Linked DNA regions of Homo sapiens: region 1 is linked to region 2. Evidence: promoter capture Hi-C in human tissues and cell types (Jung and others, 2019). All regions are on one chromosome and are shown on one strand. The core of a region is centred on a gene start or on the middle of the fragment in contact, and the rest is flanking DNA. Distances in the headings are between cores, read along the strand shown. Region 1 overlaps CFAP74 (cilia and flagella associated protein 74). Region 2 holds the start of PRKCZ (protein kinase C zeta).

The links. The method cuts DNA at HindIII sites, captures the fragments that hold promoters and counts their contacts. A contact is called where the count stands out against the background at its distance.
Region 1: a fragment that was not itself captured here is called in contact with the fragment with the promoter of PRKCZ in region 2 in 7 of the 25 tissues and cell types used here (H1 embryonic stem cells, IMR-90 fibroblasts, dorsolateral prefrontal cortex and 4 more).

Annotation. Positions count from the first base shown.
Region 1 is chr1:1,989,893-1,994,684 of GRCh38, forward strand. It overlaps CFAP74 (cilia and flagella associated protein 74), which reads right to left. Exons shown (of 39, transcript NM_001304360.2): 2 at 998-1,083. The coding sequence starts at 1,064. Among named protein-coding and RNA genes, the nearest start is that of CFAP74, 11 kb to the right of the region's middle. The HindIII fragment of the contact is 5,694 bases long and covers 1-4,792 here.
Region 2 is chr1:2,048,267-2,052,995 of GRCh38, forward strand. It overlaps PRKCZ (protein kinase C zeta), which reads left to right and starts at 2,145. Exons shown (of 18, transcript NM_002744.6): 1 at 2,145-2,435. The coding sequence starts at 2,365. It overlaps PRKCZ-DT (PRKCZ divergent transcript), which reads right to left and starts at 1,804. Exons shown (of 3, transcript NR_135509.1): 1 at 1,602-1,804; 2 at 1,332-1,400; 3 at 935-1,202. RefSeq lists a silencer at 1,723-2,332. The HindIII fragment of the contact is 14,073 bases long and covers 1-4,729 here.

The DNA.
Region 1 (4,792 bases), core at 1,271-3,770, 58 kb before region 2:
CCTTCAGGGCCTGTGAGGTGAAAACTGTCTTCATGATCACACTCGCACGCCATTTGTCTCCTCACTCTCTTCCCATGAGAGGACAGTGGCGTTTTCCAGAGGCTGCATGACAGGTGACGTCACAACAGACAGCTCTAAGACTCCAGCTGTCTTCCATTAAACCCAACTCTTAACGTTACTGCCAATAGGTTCGTTATTGCTATTTTAAGTGGCTACGTATTAAAATGTTTCCAGCTTTAATTTTTGATACAGTAAGTATGGAAAGATACAGGCAACATAAACAAATGTTCTCTGTGTCTTCAATAATTTTTAAGAATGTAAAGGGGTTCTCAGACAAAAGAGGCTGAAGGTCACTATCTCAGAAGATTACAGCGGACTTCCGGCAAAACACGGCAAAGGGAACACAGTTTTTCTTCCCTTCATTAAATCTCAGTAAAAATGATGGAAAAGGCAGAAAGCCACAGTCACAAGGGGGGCGGGAGAGGGAGACAGTGGCGGGGGGCAGGGGGGAGAAGGCCACACAGCGCCAGGAGCTGACTCAGCACACAACAGAACCCAAAACGGGGTGGGGAGTGGGGTGGGGGTGGGAAGGAAATGCGTTCCCAGATTGCGATGGCCTGCCTGTGCCCAGAACTAGAACCAAATCAAGGCACGTCTCAGTAACATTTCAGATCATCAGAGATTTTTTAAAAACAGCTTCCAGGAAAAGAAAACAAAAATAGGTCACATTCAAAGGATTGGGATAAAAATGGCATCAGATTTCTCAATACTGATGTTGGAAACTAGAAAACTATGGTCTGCCGCCTTCAACATCTCAGCCACAATTTATCTTTCTTTCAAATAAAGACAATAATATAAGCTCCCTCTTTGAGAGAAAAATATGAGTGTAAAAGATACCCTCTCCCAGAAATAAAGGGAATTAAAGGGCTACTATGAAGCATGTCATTTGTTTGTCTTTTTGCTGAAACTTCCGTTACTGTGAAAGAAGCTTTATTACCATCTTCCAAAAGAAGGGCATCGGCCAAAAGCTCGTCCTCAGGGAGCAGGCTGCCGTCATCCTCCATGCTGGGAGATAGAAATTAGCTGCAAAAGATGATCGCAAAATATAGATCAATAAAATCATAGATTTAAAAGACGGTGAATTAACCATTTCTCTTAAAGAAGGCATTAAGAAAACAAACGACAGATTAGGAAAAAATATTTGCAGCACACACATATCTGACACAAGTCTTACATCTGGAACACATGAAGAGCTCCTATCAACCACATGAAGTCCAAACTCCAGTTTAAAAGGTCAAAGAGGCCGGGCGCGGTGGCTCATGCCTGTAATCCCAGCACTTTGGGAGGCCGAGGCAGGTGGATCACCTGAGGTCAGGAGTTCCAGACCAGCCTGGCCAACGTGGTGAGGCTACAGTGAGCTGTGATGGCACCACTGCACTCCAGCCTGGGCAACAGAGTGAGACCCTGTCACAAAAGAAAAAAGAAACTGCCCAACAGTATCCTCGAGTATCACTTTACACTCCCACCAGCAAATACCAAATTAAAATAATGAAATACAACATTAGCTGGGTGTGGTGGCGCATGCCTATAATCCCAGCTACTCAGGAGGCTGAGGCAGGAGAATTGCTTGAACCCGGGAGGCAGAGGTTGCAGTGAGCCGAGATAGTGCCACTGCACTCCAGCCTGGGGACAAGAGCGAGACTCCATCTCAAGAAAAAAATGTCAAAAGATTTGGAATTCCATAAGAAAAGAGATATACAAATGGCCAATATGCATGTGAAACTGTGTAACATCAGTATCTTTAAGGAAATATGAATCAAGCCATAATGAGATACTATTATATACTGAGTAGAATGCCTGAGATTGGCTGGGCGTGGTGGCTCACACCTGTAATCCCAGCACTTTGGGAGGCCAAGGTGGGCGGATCACGAGGTCAGGAGATCGAGACTATCCTGGCTAGCACAGTGAAACCCCATCTCTACTAAAAAACAGAAAAAATTAGCCGGGCATGGTGGCAGGCGCCTGCGGTCCCAGCTACTCGGGAGGCTGAGGCAGGAGAATGGTGTGAACCCAGGAGGCGGAGCTTGCAGTGAGCCGAGATCGCGCCACTGCACTCCAGCCTGGGTGACAGAGCGAGACTCCGTCTCAAAAAAAAAAAAATGCCTGAGATCAAAACGCTGCCAACAGTGAGCACTGGCAAGGCTATGGAAGGGCTGGCATCGTCACGCGTTGCTGGTGGGAGTGTAAAGGGATACTCTGGAACACTGTTGGGCAATTTCTGTTTTCTTTTGTGACAGGGTCTCACTCTGTTGCCCAGGCTGGAGTGCAGTGACACAATCACAGTTTACTACAGCCTCAAACTTCTGGGCTCAAGCAATCTTCCCGCCTCAGCTTCACAAGTGCTAAGACTACACGCACATGCCGCCATGCCCAGGTAATTTTCAAATTATTGGTTGAGATGGTGGGTCTCTCTTTGTTGCCCAGGCTAGTCTTGAACTCCTGGTCTCAGCCAGGATTCACCCACCTCAACCTCCCAAAGTGCTGGGATTACAAGCTTGAGCCACTACATCTGGCACCAAAAACAATTTTTTTTTTTTTGGAGATGAAGTCTCGCTCAGTCTCCCAGGCTGGAGTGCAGTGGCGGGATCTTGGCTCACTGCAAGCTCTGCCTCCTGGGTTCACGCCCCTCTCCTGTCTCAGCCTCCCGAGTAGCTGGGACTACAGGCGCCCACCACTACGCCCAGCTAATTTTTTTGTATTTTTATTAGAGATGGGGTTTCACTGTGTTAGCCAGGATGGTCTCGATCTCCTGACCTCGTGACCCACCTGTCTCGGCCTCCCAAAGTGCTGGGATTACAGGCGTGAGCCACCACGCCTGGCCCAAAAACAATTCTTAAATAATTTCAAAATTATCATTACACTTTGCTTATCATTTTGGGAATGTTAGGAGCTTGCTCGTGTGGAACTCTTGGTACCGAATCTTCTGTGTCCAGATGTTGGAACTAAATAATTTCACTTAAGAAACAGGCCGGGCACAGTGGCTCGCGCTTATAATCCCAGCACTTTGGGAGGCCAAGGTGGGCAGATCACTTGAGGTCAGGAATTTGAGACCAGCCTGGCCAGCATGGTGAAACCCCATCTCTACTAAAAATACAAAAACTAGCCAGGTATGGTGGCAGGCACCTGTAGTCCCAGCTACTTGGGAGGCTGAGGCCCGAGAATTGCTTGAGCCCAGGAGGCGGAGGTTGCAGTGAGCCGAGATCACGCCACTGCATTCTAGCCTGGGCGACAGGGGAAGACTGTCTCAAAAAAAAAAAAAAAAAAAAGAAACAATGTTAAAATCACAAACTCTTTACTTATTTTTTTCTGGTGAGAATTAAATTTAATGGCTAACTTTCTTTTATTTTTTTGAGACAGGGTTTGACTCTGTCACCCAGGCTGGAGTGCAGTGGTGCGATCACAGCTCACTGCAGCCTCCAACTCCTGGGCTCAATTGATCCTCCTGCTTCAGCCTCCCAAAGGAGCTGGGACTACAGGCACGCACCACCACACCCAACTGATTTTTGTATTTTCTGTAGAGACAGGGTTTTGCCATGTTGCCCAGGCTGGTCTCAAACTTTTGGGATCAAGTGATCCACCTGCCTTGGCCTTCCCAAGTGTTAGAACTAGAGGCGTGAGCCACCGTGCCCGGCCGGTGGCTGTTTTCTATTAGACCTTAAATATGTGATTGGTTTTAACGCCTATTAATCACATTGTGCTTGTACCATGATTAATATACAAAACAGCTGATGTCAAATGCTTATAAATCAGCAGGGCACAGTGGCTCACGCCTGCAATCCCAGCACTTTGGGAGGCCGAGGCAGGTGGATCACGAGGTCAGGAGATCGAGACCATCCTGGCTAACACAATGAAACCCCACCTCTACTAAAAATACAAAAAATTAGCCGGGCGTGGTGGCGGGCGCCTATAGTCCCAGCTACTCGGGAGGCTGAGGCAGGAGAATGGCGTGAACCCGGGAGGCGGAGCTTGCAGTGAGCCGAGATCACACCACTGCACTCCAGCCTGGGCGACAGAGCAAGACTCCGTCTCAAAAAAAATAAAAATAAAATAAAAATAAAAAAATGTAGCCAGGCGTGGTGGTGGGCACCTGTAGTCCCACCTATTCAGGAGGCTGCGGTGGGAGGATCACTTGAGCCCAGGAGGTCGAGGCTGCCGTGAGCTGTGATTGTGCCACTGCAGGCCAGCCTGGGTGACAGAGCAAGACCCTGACTCTAAAAGGGTTAAAAAAAAAAAAAAAAAAAGCTTTAAGTCAATGTACCTAGTATAGAGACAGACATTTAACATTGGGAATTAGCACTACCATTTTGCATTGAAATAATGAGTAATTCCGGGTGAAATGTACATAAATGTTGACATTATGTATGAGATGCTAAAACTGTAAAATTGTAGAGGACTGTGTTTCATTGCTTAACTTAGCAATCGCTTCAGAATAATTCACTAAAAATATTTTCAGTGCCTAGCAATGTTTCTTGGATAAATTATTAATGTATCAATGCCAGTAATTTTTTAAACTTACAAAGAAACAATTGCATTTTAAAGTCCTGGGAGGCAGAATTTTAAGGCATCTTGTAAAATTCCAACAATATTTTTTCCACTTGAAAGAACTGATTAAGCTGCTAGTCTTTGAATGGCAGGATTTTCAGAAACTATTTAGAAAATGGCCAAACCTATTCAGCTCTGTGCTTGTGAATTCCATGCGGCCTCCGCGACGTCATTTTGCTGGACACCCCGT
Region 2 (4,729 bases), core at 895-3,394:
CCAGGCTGCCCCCTCACCCTCTACTCTCTGCCCCCCTTCATGCCCAGCTGATGGGCATGGGGCTTTGTGCCTGTGCGAGGGATAGAGGGGGTTGCCCCATGGAGATGGGGGTGAGGAGTAGATTGCTGAAATGGGCATTAGGTATGCTAGAGACTTCAAGGAAGTGTGGGTGCCAGTCCAGCAGATCTCTGCAGGCAGGTGCTCCTGGAAGAGGGAGTGGCTGTGCAAAGAGGGAGTGGCCGTGCAAAGACGGAGGCCGGGGCAGCAAAGAGGCCTCGAGGCCGGGGCAGAGGAGCTGGCCTTCCCTCCAGGAGTGATGGGAACCACTGGGGGGACTTCGATGACCCAGAAAGATGGAGTGGGGGAAGACGTCAGCTGAGAGGCTCATTAGGAGGATGCCTGGGGCTGGGTGAGTGTTGGTTGGGAGCTCAGGGGGCCCATCTGAGCTGGGGATGCAAAGCGGGCCAAAGGCTGAGGCTGGGGCTCCACAGTTTTAAAAGCTGCAGACCAGGAGGGCGAGGGATGGGAGATTTAGGGAGCTGGAACCCGGGGCCAGGGATGTGTGAGCCTTCCCAGGAGGGGTCTGATACCAAAGGCCAAGTTAAGAAAATGTCTGAGGCCGGGCACAGTGGCTCACGCCTGTAATCCCAGCACTTTGGGAAGCCAAGGCAGGTGGATCACCTGAGGTCAGGAGTTCGAGACCAGCCTGGCCAATATGGAAAAACCCCGTCTCTACTAAAAATACAAAAATCAGCTGGGCATGGTGGTGGACACCTGTAATCCCAGCTACTTGGGAGACTGAGGCAGGAGAATGGTTTGAACCCAGGAGGCAGAAGTTGCAGTGAGCCGACATCATGCCATTGCACTCAGCCTGGGCAGCAAGAGCGAAACTCCATCTCAAAAAAAAGAAAAAGAAAGAAAAAAAGAGAAAACGTCTGAGAACCGACGGCTTGTATTTAAAACGTGTGAGTGGGTGGTGGCAGGAGAGGTAGACAGGGAGCAGGGCCGGCTTGGCGGAAGCTTTGCTGTAGAGAGGGGCAGAGATGGCTCGGTGGGTGGAGGGAGGGGCAAACGGTGTTTAAGAAGAAAAAACGACAGCTTCTGCGTAGGAGAGGGGCCTCCTGTCCATCTCCAGGGAGAACATGGGTTCTGTGGCCACAGGTCTCCCCAGGGCCTGGCATCAAGGAGGCGCCAGGCACGACCTGCGGGATGAAAGCACGTGGCTGAAGTCCTGGTGGCTGTGTCTGGGTGAGGGGTGTGAGGGCGTGGCCTGAGCAGGTCCACTCTCAGGGGAGAGGGGCCGAGGCCAGGAACTGGGTCTGGGTGTCCACCTGGTGCCTGGGTGAGGTCCTGCAGGCAGCAGGTCTGGGCTTCAGTGGATGCAGCCAGTAAGGGATGGGCTGATCAGGGAAAACCGTATTTTCAGGGGAGGAGCCCAGGAGGCAGGGAGCTGGGCGGCGGTGGAGGGGCCTGGAGGGCGATTGTCCAGATCAAGCCCCTCGAGTAAGGCCCGAGAGGCTGTGGCTTCAGAAATGAAGGTCATGGGCGACTCGGGCCAATGCCGCGTCCTTGACCTGGGCGAAGTGAGCGGTTGCACTCACGAGTGTGGACGGCCCTTCCCTACAGGGGACCTTGGATTCGCTGGGGGCGGAGTGGGGGCTGGGGCCCAGAGAACCCGAGTCCGGACGCTCCCGTCCGTGACCCTGGCCGGGTTCTCCGCTCCTCGCAGCTTCAGTCCGCAAGTGTGAGATGTCAGGGGACCCCTGGACGGCGGGGCCCTCGGGCTGGCAGCGCGCGCCGCAGGAGTTTCGATTCGGAGGGTCTGGGCGAAGGCCGAGAACTCGCGTTTCCAGCGAGTTCCCGGGGGCGCCGCTCCGTCCCAGAGGCCGGGGCCCCTCCGGTTGCCGGGCAGAGCCGCGCCGCGCGCGGTCCCATTGGCGCAGGTGCGCCGCGCCCCGCCCAACAGGTAGCCCCGCCCGACAGGTAGCCCCGCCCGCGCCTCGCCATTGGGCCGCGGCCGGGTGTCCCCCGAGGATTGGCCCAGGTGGCGGCCCCGCCTCGCCCTCATTGGCCGCAGGTGCCACCGCCCGCCCCGGGACCGCCCGCCCCGCGGATTGGCCGCTGGCTCCACCTCGGTCCGCCATGTTCGGACACCGCCCCCCGCCCCCGCCGGACGGTCCCGCCCCGCGCGCCCCCCGCTCCCGCCCCGCGCGCCGCCGGAGTTCCGCGGAGTTGACCGGGTCGGCGCCGTCGGTCCTGAGCGCTGCCTTCCGCGTTCCGCCGCGGCCCCACCTGGAGCCCCCGCCCCGCGCCATGGCCGGAGCTCCCGGGGCGCAGCGCTGACGGCGGCGGGGGGAGCGCGCCATGCCCAGCAGGACCGGCCCCAAGATGGAAGGGAGCGGCGGCCGCGTCCGCCTCAAGGCGCATTACGGGGGGTGAGCGGCGGAGAGGGCGGGGAGCGGCGCGGGTGAGGCAGGGAGGGCGGGGAGGGCTCAGCCGTCGGGGCTCCTGCGCGAGAGGGAGAGAGGGAAGGGGCGGCGAGGTCGCTGCGGGCCCGGGGCTGTCGCGGGAGGTCCTCGGTCCCCGCCCGTGAGCGTCACCCGCGGACACGTCGTGGACAGCGCGGGCTCCTTCCCCGGGACCGGGTTTCCCTGGGGTCGGCCCCGCGCCGCGAGCTCCTCGGCCCGGTCATTGTGGTAGACGTTTTCGCTGGAAAGTTGGGCGGGGACGTTCCGGCCGCAAACCTGTAAGGACTGAAAGTTTTCATCAAGTTGTGAAAACTCCTGGCGGGTTTCTTAAAATCAGCGTTTCCTAAACGTTCTCCACGTTTACCCGGTCGGGGGTCTCGCTTTAGCCAAAATCCGGAGACCCGGGGCGCGGGCGCTGTGGCTCCAATGCAGCCCCCGGCAGGGCTCGGGGCGGTCGGGCGGGGACAGGGGTTTCTGGAGGAGACGGTGGGGCCGAGACTGACCCTGGGGTTTGCGTCGCACCCGCCCCCCGGAGGCCCTTGCCTGGCTGTGGGAGGGGGCGCGGTCAGGTGCTGGAGCGGAGGGGTCCTGGACTCTTGGCCGCCGCCTCGGGGCAGCGCTGCTGGGGGTGGCGGGGGCTGCACCAGGTGGCCGGGCTCACAGGCACAGCGGAGGGGTCGCTGCCCCCCGAAGTGTGGGCGGTGGGGAGGGGAGGACCCGTGGGTTTGTTCTTCCACCTGTGCGCGTCTCCAGGAGCCCCGAACTGGGACCTCCGCTCCCGCGAGGGTGGCTGCTGCTGCAGAGAGGGAGGGGAGCAGAATGCGGGCTCCGGACTTGCACTGGCTGGTCCTTGGGATCTCGAAAAGCTGCTCCTGCCCCGGTGCGTCCTCAGCTACAGCGTGGGCAACCTGAGCCCCAGAGGCAGGGACGGCCGGCAGGGTTAGGCGGGTGACAACTTCCCCGGGCCACGTCCTCTCAGGACAGTGCCCCGGGGGTCTCTATGGTGCCCTGCGAGTCTGAGCGGGTTCAGCTTCCTGCGAACCTTGTCTTGGGGTCTCGGGTCAGCCATCTGGGGCTGCTTGGCCCCGGGTTTGTTGAGGAGGCTCAATTGTCTCTTCTTTGGGAAGGTTGGGGCCTCTGCAGCTCCCCTGTGGCAAGCACCTGGAACCTTCGGGGTGCAGTGGCCCGGGTTTGGTGCCAGAACCAGAAGAAAGGGATTTCTGGGGGACTGACCGTCCAGCCCTACCTGAAGAGGTAGGGCAGCCATGTCTTTTGGCCTGGAGGTCAGCAGGTTAAAACTTGGTATGGTTGACGTTCTGGCTATTGGACTTGTCCAGGGACCTGGGCTTCCTGTCTCCTTGCCATTCTGGAGCCACCACACTGGGCAACAGGTGATGGTGCGGAGCTCAGGGGAGTCCTGCGAGAGGGAGGTCCACACCCGAGGGGCTGCAGGGGCCCAGACCCTCCTGCATTCCGGCGTCCAATTCCTGGGACCAAGGCTCGGAGGCAATGCCACTGGAGTTCTGGGCCGCCCCGTCCTCCCTCTGCCTTGCTTTGGCCCCTGGGAGCACTTTGGTGGTGGGGCGGGTGTAATTCCACCCGGTGACTCTGGTTTCCCAGGCTGGAGAGACCAGGCTCCCACCCCTTCCTCTTCCCTCCCTTCCCGGACTCTCTCCCCTCTCTCCCCACCCCTTCCTCTTCCTCCCTCCTTCCCTGTTGTTTTCCCTCCTCTTCCCGCTCTCCCCTCTCTCCCTTCCCTGCCACACCTCTTCCTTCACCTTCCTCCCCCTTCTAGGGCACGTCTCCCCTCTGGCTCTTCCCTGCTCCTACCATTCCTTCTCTCCTCTCTCCCCTCCCAGGTCCTCCTCCTCTCTGCTGCAGAGTGTGAAGTACCCTTCTCCCCGTTCTGGCTCCTCGTCCCTCTGGGCACCCGGTGCCTCTCTGAGGGGACTGGCTGTGGGGTGGGACACTCAGGCCTTAGGGCAATGACACAGTTCCAGAAAGCGGCTGCCAGGATGAGTACTGGGTTATTGAAAGCCCTAGAAACTCTGTCCCTGGGGTGAGACGCTGCTGTCCGTGGGGGTAGCTGAGCGTGGACACGTGGAAGACTAGTCTTTAGAAAAAGGAAGAGCACTTCAGTCACCCCCATGGGGCATGGCCACCCCGTCATCCTTGCCTGTCCTCCCAGGGCCCTCTGAGCACACTTGAGATCCAATCCTCGCCACCCCACCCCGCCCCCTGTGGGCCTGAGGGGTCCCCAG